Regions from separate parts of the Homo sapiens genome. Here region 2 is linked to region 1. The links are contacts of gene promoters, found by promoter capture Hi-C in blood cells and fetal thymus (Javierre and others, 2016). All regions are on one chromosome and are shown on one strand. The core of a region is centred on a gene start or on the middle of the fragment in contact, and the rest is flanking DNA. Distances in the headings are between cores, read along the strand shown. Region 1 holds the start of TSTD2 (thiosulfate sulfurtransferase like domain containing 2). Region 2 holds the start of AOPEP (aminopeptidase O (putative)).

Region 1 (3,471 bases), core at 359-2,858:
CCTGAACCTAAAAGGCAGAGGTTACAACGAGCCAAGACCGTGCCACTGCACTCCAGCCTGGGCAACAGAGCGAGACCCTGTCTCAAAAAAAAAAAATCATACTCCAATGACTTCTCAATTCACTTGGATAATGTCCAAAGTCCTCACAGAGCACCTTCCCCCTACCTCTCTGATCTCATCTACCACTCTCCCGTTGCTCACTACCTATGATGGCACTATTTGTGGGTATTCCTGAATGGGTCGTTAGAATATATCAGCGCCAAGAGAGCAGGGGTTTTCCTTTGTTCACCTCTACATCCTCAGCATTCAGAACTCTGCCTGGCACCTAGGAGGTGCTAAATGCTAATAAATATAATATTCGTTGAATGAAATAAAACAGTGATTGGGTAACCAAAGAAGGCCTCACTAAGGACCTGACATTTGAGCTGAGACCTAAGTGACCAAGAGCCAGCCACGCAGATTTAGAACCAGAGACCTTCAGGTAAAGGAAATAGTATAAGTTCCTAAAATAAGAACAAGCTTGACTTATTGTAAGAACAGAAAGAGTGGTTGGAGTACAGTGAGGAGAAGTAGAACCCCACAGGCCATGGCATGGAGTGTGCAATGGAAAGTCGTAGGAGACTTTTTTTTTTTGACACGGTCTCACTTTGTTGCCCAGGCTGGAGTGCAGTGTGCGATCACCGCTCACTGCATTCTCGACCTCCTGGGCTCAAGGGATCCTCCCACCTCGGCCCCCAACCCTCCCCTCGAGTAACTGGGACTACAGGCGCCAAACACTAGGCTCAGCTAATTTTTTTTTTTTTCCTGTAAAGACGGTGTTCGCCTTGTTGCCCAGGTGGGTCTTGAACTCCTAGGCTCAAGCGGATCCGCCCGCGTCGGCCTCCCATAAGTGTTAGGATTACAAGCGTTAGCTACCCCGCCCGGCCGTCATAGGAGACTTTTAAACAAAGCAGTAACACGATCTGATTCTGGATTTGTGTTGAAAGCAGAGCAGGCAGGGTTTACAGATAATTGTTATGTAAAAAGAGGGAAAAGAGCTAAGAAAGACTCTAAATTTTTGGATTAAGCGGCCGACGGATGACGTCATTTACTGAAATGGGTAAGACCGAAGGAGAATTAGGCCGGGAGAGTGAAATTTCAGATGGCCATGGACAAAGCAGATAAGCCAGTATGGTGCTCATAAAGACATCAGGGGAGGGGACGCTCACACACAGGCATATAGGTACCCAATAACCCTTGAAAACAGATTACTAAAACAATCATTTGTTCCTTCCTAAGCAAACAACTTAAGGAAAATGACGGCCAGCCGGCAAGCCCGGAGCCGCACGCTCGCGTCAGGGCCGGCCTTTCCATACCAAGGGGCGGCACGTGCGGCACCGCCTCCCGCCCAGGCCCCACCCCGCATGCCGAGCTTGGCCCAACCTCTCCTCCCACTTTTCCCAAGGCGGCAAAAGCCGGAAAGTGGGAGTAGATGAGCACATACCCGCCAGTCCTGATCCTTTCTAAGGTCTCTCTTCCCTGCACTGTCTCCGCCTAGCAATTGTCACTGCTCACCGCCCTCGAGCCTATTCCCCCGCCGCGTATTTGGGTAGAAAAGCTCGCTCGTGACGTCACCAAGCTCCGGAAGTCTCCTGGCGTCGGCGCAAGGGCCGCCGGGAAAACCATTGAGAGGCCACCGGGAAACCATTGAGAAGCCCCGGAGGACCGGCCTGAGCGGAGGCGGAGACTAGAGCGGCCGCCGGCACGACCCGCCTTCAGGCGTACGACGACCGCGGCCCGGGGGCTCTGAGTGGCCAAAGCGGCGGCACTTTCTGCGTGGCCCCGGAAGGACATAGAGCGGAAGGCGGGAGAAAGAAGTAGCCGGCAGGCGGAGGCAGCCCGAGGGGGCGGTTGCATGTGTGCCAGACGTTCGTAGCCCACTGAGCTTCCTCACGCCGGCTGTCGCAGCGCCTAGCCCCACCCGGCGGCCTCTCCTGCGCTTCCGGGGCCGTGGCGAGCTAGTGCGCCTGCGTGCCGGCCCATCCGCGCGCCTTGCAGCTGTCCTTGCGTCGGCCAGCGGCCAGACAGTTCCTGCAGCGCTTACCGCCTGGCCTCTCGGTTCCGCGGCGCACCGGAGGGCAGCATGTCGCGGCGGCGGCACAGCGACGAGAACGACGGTGAGTGCCTGCGGCCCGGCCACGGAGGCCGCTCCCGGTTGGGAGCCGAGGCTCGGCGTCTTTGGGTGTCCACGGAAGAGACTGGAAGCTCTTCTCCCCGGGAACGTGCGGGGAGCCGCGGAGGGAAAGAGGAGAATATGGTGGCGGTGTGGTCGGGCGGCTTCTAGAAAGCGACTTCTCCCCCGCCCCAGTTCTTTGAGTCAAGGGCCGATCCTCGGGAAAGAAGGCCTGGTGAACCCCATGGGTAGACCCTTGGTCTCTAAGGATGCTTCAGAATTTCGTCCGTAAAACCACGGAGCAGGGAAGCACACCTGTGTCTGTGCTGCCGCCTCTTAGGGACCCACTGGTCCTAGTGTCTCGTTTTAACCTTCAAAGCTGCACCTGAAAAGGGCTCGGAAGAATTCACTGAAGGAAAGGACTGAGAGATCTCATGAGTTGCAGTCTGAACTCTGTTCCGGTAGTGGTTATCCGTTGATTTCACTTCTTTCAAGCTGCAGGGAAAGAATATTGTCTTACCTGCGCCCAAGAGGTCCCTAATAAACAGACACAGGTTACTGCAGATTTTGAACTGGCCGTAAGCGCATTTCCCTTGTGTGAGAGAGAGTGCTAGAAAACTAACTTCAGGCCTCTGAGAGAGTTAGAACAGGGGTTCCCATCTCCGTTTGGATGATTGTGCTCGTGGAGATCAGTGTTGCCTTCATAAAGATGGAATAATTCTAGTTTTAACAACAACAAAAAAAAGATGCTTATATTACACATAAGCCTTACAATCGGTCAAAAACACAAATCCACACACCAAAAAAGTAAAACTTAGAGTAATTCTATTGTTAACATTTTAGTGTATTGTTTTTTGAAGAGAGTGTATAGTAGTGGTTAAGAGATGAGACTTTGGAACCAGAGGGTTTAGGTTCAAAGCCAGACCCTACCATTTACTTGGTGATCTTGTCCAGGTTATGAAATCTCCTTAAACTTTAGTCTGTAATACAGAAGTAATGATATTTATATCTTCTGGTTTTTGTGAAGGTTAAATGAGGTAATACACATCAGCAACAATGATGTTTTATCATTTGCCAACGCTTAAGAGGCGGTAAACGTTAGCAGATGCTGTCAATGTAAGAAAAAAACCCATAACAGACATTTTAAATTGAGTAAATTTTATCTACTAACGTTTGTCTCTCCTTGAGTGTTGTGGCAGTTGAGGTGGAGGCAGAATCGCATGCATTTAGTTTTAATAGTGAAACACCAGATTTCTACGAAGGAATGGCTTGAGAGGATATTCTAGTCCAGCTTTCTATCTGACACCTAAGGGTCTAGA
Region 2 (3,471 bases), core at 514-3,013, 2.9 Mb before region 1:
TAAGAAAGCCAAGGGAAAAAAGAGCTCAGGAAAAGGGAAAGTGGAAGCCAGTGATAGAAACTGAGGAAAGATAGGTGACAGGAGAACCTAGAGGACTGACTTGGAAACAAGCAAAGAAATCAAGTTTGAAAGGAGGTGAAACAAACCTTGTTTTAGCTATATGATCCAGCTATTTGCTTAGGCCCCAAATTTAAGAATTATTTTTGACACTTTTCTTTTCCTTATCTCCCTTATCTAAACTCATCTCCAAGTCTGTCACATCTACCTCAGAATTATTCCTGAAATTTGTCCATTTCTATCATTTCTTACCTGCTCATTGCAAAAGCAACTCTTCTCTTTGCATCCTTTTAAATTGTTTCTCAAAAGTTTCATGTATACACAGCAGCTAGCAGGGTGATGTTATAAAACTAGATCCTGTCACTTACGTGTTGATAACTCTTCACTAGTTTCCCCTTACACTTCGAATAAACTCGTATTCCTCACAGGAACCCAGAGAGTCTGTGCATGATGGGGACTCTCCTTGCCTTCTTGATCTCATCCTCTGTTCTTCCCATGACCTACTTTCTCACTTTCTCCAAGGCACCACATTCTGCCCCTTCCCTATTGCTTGCTCACATGTAGATTCTTCTCTTGGCTGTTCTTTCCTTAGCTCTCCACAGAGTTGGCTGCTTCTCAGTTTACTGAACCTCTTCAGAGGGCACTTTCTTGACATCTCAAATCAAAAGGTCACCTGTCTTCCTTTAATTTCTCAGCAACTTATTTTCCTTCTACTTTTTTTTTTTTTTTTGAGATGGAGTCTCGCTGTCGCCCAGGTTGGAGTGCAGTGGCGCGATCTCGGCTCACTGCAGGCTCCGCCCCCCGGGGTTCCCGCCATTCTCCTGCCTCAGCCTCCCGAGTAGCTGGGACTACAGGCGCCCACCACCTCGCCCGGCTAATTTTTTGTATTTTTAGTAGAGACGGGGTTTCACCGTGTTAGCCAGGATGGTCTCGATCTCCTGACTTTGTGATCCGCCTGCCTCGGCCTCCCAAAGTGCTGGGATTACAAGCGTGAGCCACCGCGCCCGGCCTTTCCTTCTACATTTAATGTTTGCTTTCTCAACTAGAAAGTAATCCCCATGAGGGAAGGCACAGCGTCTGTCTTGTTCCTGGTTGTTTCCCCAGCTTTTGTTAAGGGTGCTTGCCTGGCACACAGGAGGACCTTAAATTGTGGTGGAATTAATATGTGAACAATAGTCACATGCAGCAGAGGTGAGACTAGGCTAAGGAATAAAATTGCACATCTGTATTTCAGTAACTTTTTTTAAATTTTATTTGAAACAGGGTCTTGCTCTGTGGCTCAGGGTGGAGTGTAGTGGCACGTTCATAGCTCATTGCAGCCTCGAACTCCTGGACCTAAGCAATCCTCCTGCCTCAGCCTCCATAGTAGCTGGACCACAGGTGCACGCCACCACACTCGGCTAATTTTTTAATTTTTTTGTAGAGACGGGGCCTCCCCAGGTTGCCCAGGCTGGTGATTTTTTTCTTAAGCTTCATAAAGATTTTGCAATTAGGAATACTAGGGTACCAGGGCAACTCTACAAGCCCTAGCCAGCCAAGCTGCTCGCGCCCTCCTATGACCGCGGCAGCTCCGCGCCTGCGCAGATCTCCCCCGGGCGGTCTCGCCCTCTCATCCTAAGGGGGCGGGCCTAGCGGAAGGCGGGTCAGGCAGAATGCGGCCCCGGGCGCGTGTGGATGACGTCACCCGGCGCGTGCCGGGGTAGCCCGTAGTAACCCCGAGTCTGCGGAAGTGGTGACCCGTGGGACGCGGCTGAGACAGGTAACCTGTTCGCTCCCTGTTGGGTCCCTGCCTTCCTCTCCTCCGGCGTCGGGATGGCGGCGGGGACAGCATCATTCCGTTCTGAAGGCGACGGGGAACCCTCCCTTACCCTCACTTTTGCTCGACCAGCGAGGACCCGCATCCCCTCCTCAGTTCTCCCAGACTCCTGGGGCTGAAACCCATCCTGGGGACTGGGCGGAGCGGTCACATCTTACCACCTCAGCTGTAGAGGTGGCCACGGGCTCTGGCTGTCTTCTCCCCGGCGGCACAGACCTTTCTCAGCCTCTGGGTGCCTCCTCCTTCGTCTCTTGCCTCCAGGCCCTCGGTCACCTGCCGGTCTCGGCTTCTAGCCCCACAGGGCTCATCTCCAGTCTTAAGTAGGCAGAACAGTTTCGATTCGATTCATTTCCACTTGCAGTGAAACCCATCCGCCTCTTCTTCCCCCGGAGGATCTTTACTGAGAGCACCACATTTTGAGTTTTGGGGTCCCTATAGAACATTCATACTGTTAGTCTGGAGTTTTGTTCATGAACGCATGCATGGGCGGGGAGGGGGTGGCACAGTAATGTGATTATGATTATCTATTGTGATAATAAAATATCCACTTAGGATCCAATCCACTGTTGAGATGCATGGAACAGTTAATAGCATTGCATAAAATGCCCCTTGTACCTGATTTCTTTTTGGTTTTCGTGCAATGATGACAATTACCCTTGCAAAGGTAGCCCTCAAAATAAGTAACATAACCCGCTAGGGATGTTTAGATCGCAAAAAAACAACAATAAGGTTCATATGGTTGATAAAGAAATAATATGGGTTATTACAAAACCAGACAGAATAGATGCTGAGTATATGGGACGAGAAGCAGAATTCTGAAATCCTTGATCTCATTGATTGTTTGGTTTTGTATTTTTAAAATACTTTTAGTCTGTTCCATTTTTGAATAGTGTATATTGTGCTTCGTATAAGTCTGGGAAGCCTTCCAATGACTTGCTAATTGGGAAGATTAGATTCTTCCAATATTTGGGGGACAAAGTAGAATAAGGTTAGGGTATAATAATAGTTGCTTACTGTTGGCCCATCTGCTTTATCCCAGGTACTGTGTTCAACACTTTGCATATGTTTTCTCCTTACTTCATACAACCACCTCGTGAGTTAGGAATTATTACCCCCAATTTATAGAGAAGGAAATTGAGTTTCGGTTATATGAAATTGACTTGCTAAAAATTCACAGTTAACTAAATGGCAAAATCAAGATTTAAATTCAGGTCTGAATATAACTTCAAAGCCTGCACTTTTCTTAAAGGACTCTACTAATGCTCAAATTTTAGGCTTTTTACAATAGTTGCACACAATTTTATGAGTTTGTTCACCTACACAAATGATTTAACACTTTTTAATATCTTTAATACTGTGTTAAGTTCCCATATTCCTGGAGTTAAAACACCTGGAAAGCTTAATTTGTGATCCTTCCTGCGTGCGCGCATGCACACACACACACACACACACACACACACACACCATCCTTATTTTTAAGAATGAGATAAATGGCAAACAAGATTGTGCAGTAAAACCCTGCTGTTTGGAGTCCTCAGGGAATGGGTAATTTTACAGTTGAGAGCTTAATACTTCTTTAGAAATGAAAATTTTATTGA

What was found. Contacts are between HindIII fragments. The CHiCAGO score rates a contact against its expected background, and 5 or more counts as called.
Region 2: a contact is called between the fragment with the promoter of AOPEP here and the fragment with the promoter of TSTD2 in region 1, in 1 of 17 cell types (naive CD4 T cells). The highest score is 5.7, in naive CD4 T cells.

The regions. Positions count from the first base shown.
Region 1 is chr9:97,631,760-97,635,230 of GRCh38, forward strand. It overlaps TSTD2 (thiosulfate sulfurtransferase like domain containing 2), which reads right to left and starts at 1,609. Exons shown (of 10, transcript NM_139246.5): 1 at 1,484-1,609. It overlaps NCBP1 (nuclear cap binding protein subunit 1), which reads left to right and starts at 2,062. Exons shown (of 23, transcript NM_002486.5): 1 at 2,062-2,156. The coding sequence starts at 2,123. RefSeq lists enhancers at 1,530-1,859, 1,628-1,922, 2,087-2,922, 2,480-2,559. The HindIII fragment of the contact is 4,009 bases long and covers 518-3,471 here.
Region 2 is chr9:94,724,936-94,728,406 of GRCh38, forward strand. It overlaps AOPEP (aminopeptidase O (putative)), which reads left to right and starts at 1,764. Exons shown (of 17, transcript NM_001193329.3): 1 at 1,764-1,816. RefSeq lists enhancers at 1,376-1,545, 1,491-2,033, 1,556-2,035. The HindIII fragment of the contact is 1,744 bases long and covers 1,526-3,269 here.